Linked DNA regions of Homo sapiens: all the other regions are linked to region 1. The links are contacts of gene promoters, found by promoter capture Hi-C in blood cells and fetal thymus (Javierre and others, 2016). All regions are on one chromosome and are shown on one strand. The core of a region is centred on a gene start or on the middle of the fragment in contact, and the rest is flanking DNA. Distances in the headings are between cores, read along the strand shown. Region 1 holds the start of SBK2 (SH3 domain binding kinase family member 2). Region 2 overlaps SYT5 (synaptotagmin 5). Region 3 overlaps PTPRH (protein tyrosine phosphatase receptor type H). Region 4 overlaps PPP6R1 (protein phosphatase 6 regulatory subunit 1).

Region 1 (3,463 bases), core at 604-3,103:
CCTGTCTCTACTAAAAATATAAGAATTATCCAGGAGTGGTGGCAGGCACCTGTAGTCCCAGCTACTCTGGAGGCCAAGGCATGAGAATCGCTTGAACCTGGGAGGTGGAGATTGCAGTGAGCTGAGATTGGGCCACTGCACTCAGCCTGGGCAACAGAGCAAGACCCTGTCTCAAAAAAATAAAAATAGCCCAGGCACAGTGGCTCACCTCTGTAATCCCAGCACTTTGGGAGGCTGAGGCGGGTGGATCACCAGGTCAGGAGATCAAGACCATCCTGGCCAACATGGTGAAACCCTGTCTCTACTAAAACATACAAAAATTAGCCAGGCGTGGTGGCAAATGCCCGTAATTCCAGCTACTCGGGAGGCTGAGGCAAGAGAATCACTCGAACCAGAGAGTTGGAGGTTGCAGTGAGCCGAGATCACGTCACTGCACTCCAGTCTGGGTGACAGAGCGAGATTCCGTCTCAAAAAGCAAAAAAAAAAAAAAAAAAAAGAAATAAAAAACCCTGAAGGGTGGGTGCAACCGTCCCAGAAAAAAACAGGGGTCTGAAGTCCCACTGTGGCCCAAGGCTTGGGGACTTCCTAGTGGGGCTTAATCTCCCTGTGCTTACAGCAGGGAGGCACTCACTGGCCTGTATTCCTGTTATGCGCTTTCAAACTATTTTTATTGTTATTCCTCTCTTTGGAATCAGGAGCCCTCAGGCCCTCCTCCCTCAGACCCAGGAGTCCAGGTCCTCAACCCCCTCCTCCCTCAGGCCCAGGAGTCCAGGTCCTCAACCCCCTCCACCCTCAGGCCCAGGAGTCCGGGTCCTCAACCCCCTCCTCCCTCAGACCTAGGAGTCCAGGTCCTCAACCCCCTCCTCCATCAGGCCCAGGAGTCCGGGTCCCGTGTAGAAAATGAAATCATTTCTGGAACCCACCCCTGCCTTGACCCCACCCAGCTGCCCCATCAATGCCCCATTGACAGGTCAGACACAAGTGCTTGGAGAGGGGTGTCCAGGGGATCAGATGCTGGGGTCTAGTTTGGGGAAAGAATGAGACAATGAGATTCCAGAACGATGCAGTGTGGGATGACCTCAGACTCAGAGGGGCGGGAAGCAGGTGCTGGAGCAACTGGGAAGAGAGGCCTTGAGGGGGTGGGGAGGCCTCAGTTCTGCCGGAAAACTTCAGATGGGTGGGGGAGGCTGAGGCCTGGACTCCTGGGTCTGAGGGAGGAGGGACTGGGGCCTGGACTCCTGGGTCTGAGGGAGGAGGGGCTGGGGCCTGGACTCCTGGGTCTGAGGGAGGAGGGGCTGGGGGTCTGGACTCCTAGGTCTGAGGGAGGAGGGGCTGGAGACCTGAATTCCTGGGTCTGAGGGAGGAGGGGCTGGAGACCTAGACTCCTGGGTCTGAGGGAGGAGGGGCTGGGGTCTAGACTCCTGGGTCTGAGGGAGGAGGCACTGGGGGACTGGATTCCTGGGTCTGAGGGAGGGAAAGCTGGGGGCCTGGATTCCTGGGTCTGAGGGAAGAAGAGCTGGGGGCCTGGACTCCTGGGTCTGAGGGAGGAGGGGCTGGGGCCTGGACTCCTGGGTCTGAGGGAGGAGGCACTGGGAGACTGGATTCCTGGGTCTGAGGGAGGAGGCGCTGGGGGCCTGGACTCCTGAGTCTGAGGGAGGAGGAGGGGCTGGGGCCTGGACTCCTGGGTCTGAAGGAGGAGGGCTCAACTCTTGGGTCAGGGTATTCACCTGACCACAGCCAGTTCCAGGAGTCATCACACGATGTCGCTCTGCTCCCAGTGGGGGCAGAAGGGGCGGGCCCAGGGGCGGGGCCTTACGACCCCCAAAGTCGGGGCGGGGTCTTGCTCCTAGGCAGGCCTCTGCTGGCATGAGCCCTAAGTGCCGGGCACTGACCACAGCCGGCGGCCGGAGGGTCAGGAGGGCCTTGGAGGAGGTGAGGTCTGGAGGTCTGAGCCCAGGTTGGGAGGTGGGCAAGGTGCCCTGGCCTGAGGTGGGCAGCACCTGAGGGTGACTGTACCAGGTGGCCCGAGTCCTCGGTCCCTCAGGGGAGCCTGGGCTGCACCTGGAGGCTGTAGAGCGGTGGAGGGTGAGGGAAACAGAATCAGGGGGTCCCCAGTTGTGTGAATTGTATGAGGTTCCGGGAGAGAGGTGGGCTGGGGGCCTGGACCCCTGGGCCTGGCGGAGGAGGGGCTGGGGGGCTGGGTCGGAGGGAGGTGGGTGGGCTGTGAAAGTGGGACCCCAGGCCTGTCAGGAGCTTGGGGACTGATCCCAAGTGCTCGGTCCCATGCAGGACCCAGGCGTCCCAGGCCCTCTGCACAGCCCGCCCTCCCAGCCCTGAGCCCAAGAGCACCTGTTTGTTCTCAGGAGACAGAGTCTACTCATCCACCCCCAGGGCCCAAGTCTGTTTGCTTTGGAAACAAGATGGGGGAGTCTCAGTTATCTGGTTCATCTTTCAACCTCAGGGTGGGCGGGTGGCGGCGGCGGCACGCGGGCAGGGACATCTGTGACCTGGGGCTTGAACTCACACCAGACTTGTCTCCCCACCTCTCACCAAGAGGGAGACTGAGTCACAATGAGAAGCGCGATGAGCCCCCAGCCCCTCCTCCCTCAGACCCAGGAGTCCAGACCCCCAGTCCCCTCCTCCCTTGGGCCTGGGACCTGAGCCTGGGCACCCCTCTCTGTTCTCGCAGAGATGCCCGGCAAACAGTCTGAGGAAGGGCCGGCGGAGGCAGGGGCTTCGGAGGACAGCGAGGAGGAGGGTCTGGGCGGCCTGACATTAGAGGAGCTCCAGCAGGGCCAGGAGGCTGCCCGCGCGCTGGAGGACATGATGACGCTGAGTGCTCAGACCCTGGTCCGAGCCGAGGTGGACGAGCTCTACGAGGAAGTGCGTCCCCTGGGCCAGGGTTGCTATGGCCGCGTCCTTCTGGTCACCCATCGTCAGAAAGGTACGAGGCTGTGGGGCCAGAGGTGGCAGGGTTCAGCTGGGGGCGGGGCACGGGCCTGGGGTAGCCCAGGCTGGGGAGGCTGGCAGGCCTGAATCAAGTCTTACCTCTGCCCTCCAAAGCTGTGTGTTTTTTGTTTTTTGTTCTTTTGGTTGGTTGGTTGTTTTTGAGACAGTCTGGCTCTGCCGCCCAGGCTGGAGTGCAGTGGCACAATCTCACTGCAACTTCCACCTCCCAGGTTCAAGTGTTCCTCCTGCCTCAGCCTCCCATGTAGCTAGGACTATAGGCATGCACTACCACACCCAGCTACATTTGTGTGTGTGTGTATTTTTCTTTCTTAGTAGAGATGAGGTTTCACTCTGTTGGCCAGGGTGGTCTCGTACTCCTGGCCTCCAGTGATCCGCCTGCCTCAGCCTCCCAATTGCTGGGATTACAGGCATGAGCCACGGTGCCCTGCCAAAAACTGTGTTTTGAGGAACTCCCTTGCCCTCTCTGAGTCTCAGCTTCCTCCTTTGGAAAATG
Region 2 (3,463 bases), core at 721-3,220, 360 kb after region 1:
CAGAATCACACTGGGTACTTGTTGAAATGCAAATTCTGGCACTAGCACCTGACCTATCAAGTCAGAATCCCTGAAGAGGTGACCTCAGACATTTTGCCACAGGATTCAGGGGAATTCAGGTTCACATTGAATTTTAAGAATTGCTGGCCTAGGTTAAGGAGACACCTTCTGCTTTTTCATTCAACTTTAGAATGGCAAGTACACAGTAAATATGCCATTTCTCCTCCATGTTTTGCTGTGCTAAGATCACAAGTAAACATGGCAGTTTGGACTAGCACCCCAGTACATCCATTAGCATGTGAAATAAAACCTGCATTATTCCTGTGGGCAATGGGACACTATCAGCACTTGTTTTAATCTAAGCATGACAAGCACATGTCTAGTTCCTGCCCATAGCAGACACCACTAATCAAACCTTCACAAACATACTGCATCTGTGTTACCACGTCTATTTCCTGCCTGTGGCAGACAGCACTAGTCAAATACTGAATCTGCTTAGCCTGTGAGAGCTCAGGTATAGCCCAAGGGACCTGTGAGCCTCCCTTGGCTTCTGAGCCTGATGGATACTGCTATCAGGGGAAGACTTCACCCACCCTTACCCCTGGCTCCTTAAGGTGCAGCCAGAAGTAGAGGAGCTGGAGCCAGCACCATCCGGGCCAGGGCAGCAGGTGGCAGACAAGCATGAGCTAGGACGACTGCAGTACTCCCTGGATTATGACTTCCAGAGTGGCCAGGTGGGTGTGGAGGAAGGGGAAGCTTTGGAGGGAGGATCCCGGGGGTTCCAACCCCTTCTGAAAGGAGCCATGGAAGGGAGGCTAAGACTAGTGTTCCCCACCTCCCCCACTGTGCCTGGGCCCTGCAGCTGCTGGTGGGCATTCTGCAAGCAATGGGATTGGCAGCCTTGGATCTTGGTGGCTCCTCGGACCCCTATGTGCGGGTCTACCTGCTGCCGGACAAACGGAGGCGGTACGAGACCAAGGTGCATCGGCAGACGCTGAACCCTCACTTTGGGGAGACCTTCGCCTTCAAGGTGAGCTCCTGCCTTCAGGCCCCGTGTTCCATAGCCTGTGCCCAGTCCCTGGAACACTAGGGACCGACCCCTTCCGCTTTTCCTGGAGGCGGCCACAGCTCAGGTGGCAGCTACCAGCTCTGGGGCTATTCCACTGGACCCTGGGCACTACTGACTCCTGGGCTGTAGCCTGGTCCTTGGGCGGTACGATTTGGGTTCCACTGACCCGTGATTTTTTTCCGCATGGATCCCTGGACTTTCCCATTTGAGTTCCCCCAACTGTTCGCTTCGACCCTCGCTGCCTCACTCCATGCCTTCCTTCTGGTTGTGCTGTGCCTCACCCTATCTCTGACTTCCTGCTCTCTACTGCGGATTCTCTGTGCACTCCAGGTCCCCTACGTGGAGCTGGGGGGCAGGGTGCTGGTCATGGCGGTGTACGACTTCGACCGCTTCTCTCGCAATGACGCCATCGGGGAGGTGCGGGTCCCTATGAGCTCCGTGGACCTGGGGCGGCCAGTGCAGGCCTGGCGGGAGCTGCAGGCGGCTCCGCGGGAGGAGGTGAGCATGCGCGGTCGCGCCCCGAGCCACGCCCCCAGGCCCAGTCCCGCCCACAACATCCTGAGCCAATCAGATCATAGGCTTTCCAGACCCTCAGGGCGGCGTGGATTGTACCCCTGAGGAGGCATGGATGTGGAGCCGGGGCTCTGGTGATGGGCCCCTCTCCTTTCAGCAGGAGAAGCTTGGGGACATCTGCTTCTCCCTCCGCTATGTCCCCACGGCCGGGAAGCTCACCGTCATCGTCCTGGAGGCTAAAAACCTGAAGAAGATGGACGTAGGAGGACTGTCAGGTGTGTGGGAAGCAAGGGAGTGGGGTGTGTGGGGATGGCGTGGGGTGGGTTCTCGTTCTGACAGTTTCTGAGCCTCGAGGGTTTCTTCGGGGACAGGGAGGACCTGGCTGCTGTGGAAGGCATGGATTTTGGCATAGAGCTAGGGAGACCCGAAGGGTGTAGGCAGTGTTTCTATGTTGGTCCAACAACCCAGCAGTGGGGAGCTATAAGACTCCTCCTTCCTCTCCCCAGATCCATACGTCAAGGTCCACCTGCTGCAGGGCGGCAAAAAGGTGCGGAAGAAGAAAACCACCATCAAGAAGAACACTCTGAACCCCTATTACAACGAAGCTTTCAGCTTCGAGGTGCCCTGTGACCAAGTCCAGGTGAGCTCAAACCTGCCCTTCTCCAAGAGCCCAGACCTTTAGTAATCGCCATTGCTAGGCGGAGGGAGACTTTTTAGCATCTCCCTAGAAACCAGGTGAGGGGGTCTGAGGTTATGCTCTCAGTCTGTTTCCTCCTATGAGGACCAGGAAGCCTCTTCCACTCCAGGAAGAGACTCCTTAAAATTGGGTGTGGGTGTCCTATCTGCTCTAAGCGGGACCGGGATGTCCCACCCCTAAGCAGTACCAGATGCTCCACCCTAAGCAGGATCAGTATGCCCCGCCCCACCAAGCGGAACCAGGATGCTCCGCCCCCAAGCAGGACCAGGATGCCCCGCCCCCAAGCAGGACCAGGATGCCCCGCCCCCAAGCGGGACCAGGATGCCCCACTCCTAAGCGGGACCAGATTCCCCACCCTAAGCAGGACCAGGATGCCCCGCCCTCCTCAGGAACGTGGTTCTAAGAAAAAGAGACCTCCCCTCACTTCTTTAGGGACGGCGCCTACCCTAGCCCGGCCCCTGTTAAAGTTCTGCAGCTTTGCGGCTCTTAGGAGGCTGCTCCCCCAGGAGGCGCCGAACACACCCGCTCCGCAACCGAGTCCTGAGGGTTCATTTCCTTAGAAACCTGGCTGCGCAGGAAGAAAGGCGCCAGAGCCTCCTCCTCGCCGCAGGCTCCGTCCCTCTCGTCTCCCACCCCCTCCCCCGTCCCGAGCTCCGGGGCCCCGAGCCCTCGGGTGGCAGCGAGAGGTACCCTCAGCCGTGAAAACGGACACCGCCCCTTCCGGGGCCTCCTCCCCTCACGCTCCTCTCTCCTCTTCCTCCCGCGCCCACCCCAGAAGGTGCAGGTGGAGCTGACCGTGCTGGACTACGACAAGCTGGGCAAGAACGAGGCCATCGGGAGGGTGGCCGTGGGGGCGGCCGCCGGCGGGGCTGGCCTGCGGCACTGGGCGGACATGCTGGCCAACCCGCGGCGGCCCATTGCCCAGTGGCACTCGCTGCGGCCCCCGGACCGAGTGAGGCTGCTGCCTGCGCCCTGACTCCCACCCCAAGCCCCCGGCCAAGCCTGGACTCTAGCCCCTGACCCCAGACTCCCGAGACCGGCCAAAGCCAAGCCAGCCCCACCCTTAAGCTTCCTCTGACGGTTACCCTCCCCCCACCTTCCACCCCAACCATCTGAACCATTCCTGTCTTCTCACCCCCAACGATGCCAATCACGACAACTTTCCAGCACACTCCCCCGACCCT
Region 3 (3,463 bases), core at 684-3,183, 340 kb after region 1:
GGGGATGTGGAAATCCTGACTCTGCTCCCTCTCCCAGTCCCCAACGCAGTGACAAGCCTCAGCAAGCAGGACTGGACCAACAGCACCATTGCTTTGCGCTGGACAGCTCCCCAGGGCCCAGGCCAGTCTTCCTACAGCTACTGGGTCTCATGGGTCAGGGAAGGCATGACTGACCCCAGGACCCAAAGCACCTCAGGTACTGACATCACCCTAAAGGAACTGGAAGCTGGCAGCCTGTACCACCTCACCGTCTGGGCCGAGAGGAATGAGGTCAGAGGCTATAACAGCACCCTCACTGCAGCCACTGGTGAGACACAGTCGGTTCTGAACCCAGCCCTATTAGGATGGGGGAAGGAAAAAGATGAAAGGACTTTGGGAGCTCCTTGGGAGATGAAGAGTACCCATGGGCCTCTCCAGCCTCACCGGCCGGAGCTTAAACCTGTAGGTCCCGTTCCTAGTGGGTGTCGTTTCTTAGCAGACAGGGCTTTCCAAGCTGTGGGACCTGTTTTTTCTCCCTTTGGGAAATGGACTCTTTGGGGTCAGGGGGAGCCCTCAATTGTCCAGCACCACCTCTCAGGAGCTGACAAAGTCACCAGCTGGACAATAGCCAACAGCTGGTCCCAGGGAATTAGATGAAGCGAGAGGGCCCCACCTCTCAGCCTAGGCACGGTGGGTCCCACTCATGAGAAAAATCAAAATCACTCTGGAGACTAGGTTCATTCTTTTTTGTGTGTGTGACAGGGTCTTGCTCTGTTGCCCAGGCTGGAGTGCAGTAGTGTGATCATGGTTACTGCAGCCTCGACCTCCTGGGCTCAACTGATTCTCCCACCTCAGCCTCCTGAGTAGCTGGGACCACAAACATGCGCCACCATGCCCAGCTCATTTAAAAAAATATTTTTTGTAGAGAGAGGGTCTCCTTATGTTGCCCAAGCTGGTGTCGAATTCTTGGGCTCAAGTGATCCTCCCGCCTCGGCCTCCCAAAGCACTGAGATTACAGGAGTGAGCCACTATGCCTGGCCTGAACCTGGAACTCTTTAATCCTTGGTCATTTGGGCTAAAAAGATGAAATTTATCAGCTCCCTCTACAAACGTGGTGTGTCTAGAGTGAGAAGACACCCTACCTGGGGTTCCTGTGGGAAAGAAAATACAGAGATCAGATCTCGAGGGCCATGAGAGGTGGAGGACTACAAATCCCATCACACCATGGGGCCATGACTTCATAAGCTGAAGCGATACAGAGAATCCATAGCCTCATGGGAACTGTAGTTTCAGTAGGTGGAATTGGTGTGCATTTGGGAAGAACAGAAAGATGACAGGGTGGGACCCAGGGCTGTAGCCAGGGGACGGAGAGGGCTAGGAGATTCTGGTCCCCATGGTCTTTGGGTATCTAGACTCTTTCCTGTGGTTCAGCCTCCTTAGCCACTGGAGCCATCAATAATGGATATCTCAGCTTTGCTGTGGGGGAGAGGCAGACAGGCTGGGGTAGGAGGGTCTTCGAGGATACCCCCTTAGGCCTCTGTTCTCACTTCTCAGCTCCCAATGAGGTCACAGATCTCCAGAATGAAACTCAGACTAAGAACTCAGTCATGCTGTGGTGGAAGGCCCCTGGAGACCCCCACTCTCAGTTGTACGTATACTGGGTCCAGTGGGCCAGCAAGGGACATCCCCGGAGGGGGCAAGATCCCCAAGCGAATTGGGTCAACCAGACCAGCAGGACCAATGAGACGTGGTACAAAGTGGAGGCCCTGGAACCCGGGACGTTGTACAATTTCACCGTGTGGGCAGAGAGGAATGACGTAGCCAGTTCCACGCAGAGCCTCTGTGCGTCCACATGTGAGAATCCCCTTCCTGCCTTCAAGTGGTGAACTGGGCTTAGCTCACAGTCCTTGCGAGCTGAGAGATGAATGGAATACAAATTCCATCAGGCCACAGGCCATGACTTCATGAGCTGCAGTGATGGAGGAGCCCAAGGCCTCATGGGAGTTGTAGTTTAAAAGGACTTATTTGTGTCCATTCGGGGAGGACAGAAAAGGAGGGAAGATGAGGTAGTTTGGATTTGGCGAGGAAGGGATGGGCTCGTCTCAGAAAACTGGGGGTAGGGGTGGAGGGGGTGGAAAGCCACCTTGGATGGCACTGCTGACCTCTTGCTTCCTTCACCCAGACCCAGACACAGTCACCATCACTTCCTGTGTCAGCACCTCAGCGGGCTATGGAGTCAACTTGATCTGGTCCTGCCCCCAGGGAGGCTACGAGGCCTTTGAGTTGGAGGTGGGAGGACAGCGGGGCTCCCAGGACAGATCTTCATGTGGGGAGGCTGTGTCTGTGTTGGGTCTCGGGCCGGCTCGGTCCTACCCAGCCACCATCACGACCATCTGGGACGGAATGAAGGTCGTGTCTCACTCTGTGGTCTGCCACACCGAGAGTGCAGGTGAGCGGAGCCGCGCGGGCCAGCCAGCTATGATGAAATTCTCGGTAGACCCCATCAGGCCCCATTGTGAGGAAATCAGTGGGACTCTTTTGTTTCTCATTTCCTTTGAAACATCTTTTTTATTTTGTATTTTGAGATGGAGTTTTGCTCTTCTTGTCCAGGCTGGAGTGCAGTGGCACGATCTTGGCTCATTGCAACCTCTGCCTCCCGGGTTCAAGTGATTCTCCTGCCTCAGCCTCCTGAGTAGCTGGGACTACAGGCACGTGCCACCACGCCCGGCTAATTTTTGGATTTTTAGTAGAGATGGAGTTTCACCATGTCGGCCAGGCTGGTCTCGAACTCCTGACCTCAGGTGATCTGCCTGCCTCAGGCTCCCAAAGTGCTGGGATTACAGGTGTGGGCCACCGCGCCATCCACAACTCACCACTTAAAGTTACAATTCAGTGACTCTTCTTATATTCACAACATTGTGCAACCATCATCACTATCAATTTTAGAACATTTTCATTACCCCCAACAGAAAGCTCACCCCGCTGAGCCACCACCCCCTAGTTCTCCCATTCCCCAGCCCCCAGCCCTCGGAAATCTCTCATCCACTTTCAATCTCTATAGATTTGCCTCTCTGGGACGTTTCATTAAAATGCAATCATAGAGTGGGCACAGTGGCTCATGCCTGGAATCCCAGCACTTTGGGAGGCTGAGGTGGAAGGATCACTTGAGCTCAGGAGTTCGAGACCAGTCTGGGCAACAGAGTGAGACCCCATCTCTACATTTTAAAAAATTAGCCAGCTGTGGTGGTGTGTGTCTGTAGTCCTAGCTACTCAGGAGGCTGAGTCAGAAGGATCACTTGAGCCCAGGAGGTTGAGACTGCAGTGAACTATGATCGGGGCCACTGCACTCCAGCCTGGGTGAAGGAACGAGACCCTGTTTCAAAAACAAAAAAAATGCAATCATACATTATGTGTTTCTTTGTGACTGGCCACTTTCACTGAGCATAATTTGTTTTTTTGTTTTTGTTTTTGTTTTGAGACTCAC
Region 4 (3,463 bases), core at 677-3,176, 300 kb after region 1:
CCTGGTGTCCGGTGAGTCCCCCTCCAGTTTCCCTTCTCCAAGCTTCCACCACACGGCAGGGCCAAGGGGTCCCCCCAACACATTTGGACTGAGGCTGAAGTGAATGAAGAAAATAAGGAACCTGCATTGGTGTGTGTATTAGTTGGGGGCACTTTCACTTTTGAGTGATAGAAATCTAATTCAAGGCCAAGCATGGTGGGCTCATGTAATCCCTGAGTGCCTGTAATCCCAGTACTTTGGGAGGCCAGGGCAGATGGATTGCTTGAGCTCAGGAGTTTGAGACCAGCCCTGGGCAACATAGGGAGATCCTGTCTCTACAAAAAATACAAAAGTTAGATGGGCATGGTGGTGTGCACCTGTAGTCCTGGCTACTCGGGAGGTTGAGGTGGGAGGATGGCTTGAGCCAGGGAGGCAGAGGTTGCAGTGAGCCGAGATCATACCACTGCACTCCAGTCTGGGCAACAGAGCCAGACTTGTCTCAAAAAAAAAGGTAGATGATGCATTAAGAAATCAACAAATTAGCCGGGCACAGTGGCTCAAGCCTGTAATCCCAGTACTTCGGGAGGAGGCCAAGGTGGATGGATCGCTTGAGCTCAGGAGTTTGAGACCTAGCCTGGGCAACATAGCGAAACCCTGTCTCTACAAAAATTACCTGGATGTGGTGACGTGTGCCTGTAGTCCCAGCTACTTGAGAGGCTGAGGTGGAAGGATCGCTTTACCCTGGGGGGCGGAGGTTGCAGTGAGTTGAGATCGCACCACTGCACTCCAGTCTGGGTGACAGAGACCTGGTCTCAAAAAAAAAAAAAAAAAAAAGAATCAACAAATTAAAAAAAATCAGCCGGGCACGGTGGCTCACGCCTGTAATCCCAGCACTTTGGGAGGCTGAGGCGGGCGGATCACGAGGTCAGGAGATCAAGACCATCCTGGCTAACATGGTGAAACCCCGTCTCTACTAAAAATACAAAAAATTTGCCGGGCGTGGTGGCGGGCACCTGTGGTCCCAGCGACTTGGGAGGCTGAGGCAGGAGAATGGCGTGAACCCGGAAGGCGGAGCTTGCAGTGAGCCAAGATTGCGCCACTGTACTCCAGCCTGGGCGACAGAGCGAGACTCTGTCTCAGAAAAAAAAAAAAAAAGGAATCTAATTCAAATGAGTTAAGTTATGAAAAGAAAGGGATAATCTCTGTGGCTGAAAAAATAGGCAGGTCCTGAGGTATGGCTTGGTCTGTGTGTGTCTCTCTCTTCCCGCCTCCCTGTCTCCTTCCTTCATCCCTTCACTTCACTTCCTCGTGTTAGCTCTCACACGTTTTCCTAGAAAGGGGGGTAAGATGGTCCCAGGCAGCTTCTCTCTTCTCTAATTCCAGTAAAATGAGAGATGATGACGTCCCTCTCCAATCAGGCTGTGATGACATTTTAGTGCAAATGTTACATTGTTTTTTTTTTTTCTCTTAATACTGGCCGGCCCCAGAGTCGCTGTGATGAAATGGGTTCATGCCATGTAGATTTGACAGCCTGAACACTAAGTCATCATCTGCAACTGAGTTTTTGACTCATGACTTTTGATTTCGGAATTAGGCTGTTTTCACTTTTTATTGACATGTAACATGCGTATAGACAAGTGTACATACAGATCCTGAGTGTGTGGCCAATGGATATCCTTCCTCAGTGCCCAGACCCAGGAGCAGGACCTTCCCAGTACCCACATCCCCTCTGTTAGCCAGTATCCTCCCTTCTGAGGGTAAAGTTGTCCTGGCTTCTAACCCTGTAGATGAGTTTTGTCTCTGTTTTCACTTGATATAGCATACAGCATCTCCTTTTATGTCTGACCTCTGTTGCTCAACACTCTGCTTGTGAGCTCCTTCCCTGTTGTGTGTTTGGGTGCCCCTGGCTCTCGTGCAGTGGGGCAGTGCCATGCATGATGAGCTGCAGCTGAATTGCTTGTTCTGCAGTTGACAGGCCTTTGGGCAGGTTCCTGTTGCTCGCTGCTGTGAGTGCAGCCGCTGTGAGTGCGGCCGCTGTGAATACCCTTGCACGTGTTGTTGGTGCACAAGTGTGTCACTGCCAAATCCAGCATCTTGACTTAGCCCTCTCTTTTCTTCTAAGAGTTTTATAGCATTATTTCTATGGTTTTCCATTCATTTTGAGCTAAATTTTGTATATGATGTGAGGTGGTCCACCTTCATCCCTTTACATATAGATAACCAGTTTTCCCTGCACCAGTTGTTGAAGACACTGTCCTTTCTCCACTGAATCATCTTGGCACCTGTGTAAAAAGGAAATATTTGACCATATGTATGAGTTTGTTTCTTCCCTCTCTGTTCTGTTCTATCAGTCTGTGTGTTGTTTTTATCCAGTACCACACTGGCCTGGTTGCTGTTGCTTTATAGTAAGTTTTGAAAATGGGAGGTTTGTTGGGCACGGTGGCTCACACCTGTAATCCCAGCACTTTGGGAGGCCAAGGTGGATGGATCACCTGAGGTCAGGAGTTTGAGACCAGCCTGGCCAACATGGTGAAACCCCATCTCTACTAAAAATACAAAAATTAGCCGGCTGTGGTGGGTGCCTGTAATCCCAGCTACTCAGGAGGCTGAGGCAGGAATATCGCTTGAACCTGGCAGGCAGAGGTTGCAGTGAGCTGAGATCGCACCATTCATTGCACTCCAGTCTGGGTGACAAGAACGAAACTCCATCTCACAGAAAAAAGAAAATGGGAGGTTTTAGTTTTCCAACCTTGTTCTTCTTTTTAAAGATTGTTTTGCCCTATTTGGGATTTCTTGAGATTCCATATGAATTTTAGGATCAGCTTGTCAATTTCAACCAAGAAGCCACCTTGCGTCTTCTAATACGTGAACATGGATGTCTTTTTATATAGGTCTTAAAATTTCTTTCAACAATGTTTCGTAGGTTTTAGAGTATGAGGCTTTGTATTTCTTTTAAGTTTATTCCTGTTTTCTTCTTTCTGTTACTATTGTAAATGGAATTTTCTTGAAATTGTTTTCAGATTGTTACAAGTATATGAAAATACAATAGGTTTTTGTATGTTGATCTTTCATCCTGCAACCTTGCTGAACTAATGTATGAGTTCTGATAGTTTTAGTGGACTCCTTAGGATTTTCTATGTACAGAATCATGTCATGTGAATAGAGTTCATTTTCCTTCCTTTCAAATCTGGATGATTTTAATTTCCTTTTCTTGCCTGGTTGCCCTGGCTAGCCTCCGGGACAATGTTGAACAGAAGTGGCAAGAACAGGCATCCTTGTTTTGTTCCTGATCTTAGGGGGAAGCATTCAGCGTTTTGCCATGTAAGCATGCTGTTAGTTGTGGGGTTTTGTAGATGCCTTATGTTAGGTTGAGGGGCTTCCTTTATACTCCTTAGTCGTTGAGTATTTTAGTTTACTTTTAACTATATACAGATATATTACTTTCCAGTTAAAGTAGTCAGTTACTCTGTTAAGACAAAAATAT

What was found. Contacts are between HindIII fragments. The CHiCAGO score rates a contact against its expected background, and 5 or more counts as called.
Region 2: a contact is called between a fragment that was not itself captured here and the fragment with the promoter of SBK2 in region 1, in 1 of 17 cell types (activated CD4 T cells). The highest score is 7.3, in activated CD4 T cells.
Region 3: a fragment that was not itself captured here is called in contact with the fragment with the promoter of SBK2 in region 1 in 1 of 17 cell types (monocytes); the score reaches 5.8 in monocytes.
Region 4: a fragment that was not itself captured here is called in contact with the fragment with the promoter of SBK2 in region 1 in 1 of 17 cell types (monocytes); the score reaches 6.0 in monocytes.

The regions. Positions count from the first base shown.
Region 1 is chr19:55,535,523-55,538,985 of GRCh38, reverse strand. It overlaps SBK2 (SH3 domain binding kinase family member 2), which reads left to right and starts at 1,853. Exons shown (of 4, transcript NM_001370096.2): 1 at 1,853-1,932; 2 at 2,690-2,944. The coding sequence starts at 2,692. RefSeq lists a silencer at 950-1,244. The HindIII fragment of the contact is 39,425 bases long and covers 1-3,463 here.
Region 2 is chr19:55,173,276-55,176,738 of GRCh38, reverse strand. It overlaps SYT5 (synaptotagmin 5), which reads left to right. Exons shown (of 9, transcript NM_003180.3): 4 at 615-734; 5 at 863-1,030; 6 at 1,400-1,567; 7 at 1,740-1,857; 8 at 2,089-2,222; 9 at 3,055-3,463. The coding sequence ends at 3,255. Among named protein-coding and RNA genes, the nearest start is that of SYT5, 5.3 kb to the left of the region's middle. The HindIII fragment of the contact is 439 bases long and covers 1,751-2,189 here.
Region 3 is chr19:55,195,487-55,198,949 of GRCh38, reverse strand. PTPRH (protein tyrosine phosphatase receptor type H) reads left to right here. Exons shown (of 20, transcript NM_002842.5): 8 at 38-307; 9 at 1,534-1,833; 10 at 2,162-2,428. Among named protein-coding and RNA genes, the nearest start is that of PTPRH, 12 kb to the left of the region's middle. The HindIII fragment of the contact is 4,783 bases long and covers 1-3,463 here.
Region 4 is chr19:55,233,191-55,236,653 of GRCh38, reverse strand. PPP6R1 (protein phosphatase 6 regulatory subunit 1) reads left to right here. Exons shown (of 24, transcript NM_014931.4): 17 at 1-11. Among named protein-coding and RNA genes, the nearest start is that of MIR6804, 4.0 kb to the right of the region's middle. The HindIII fragment of the contact is 3,764 bases long and covers 45-3,463 here.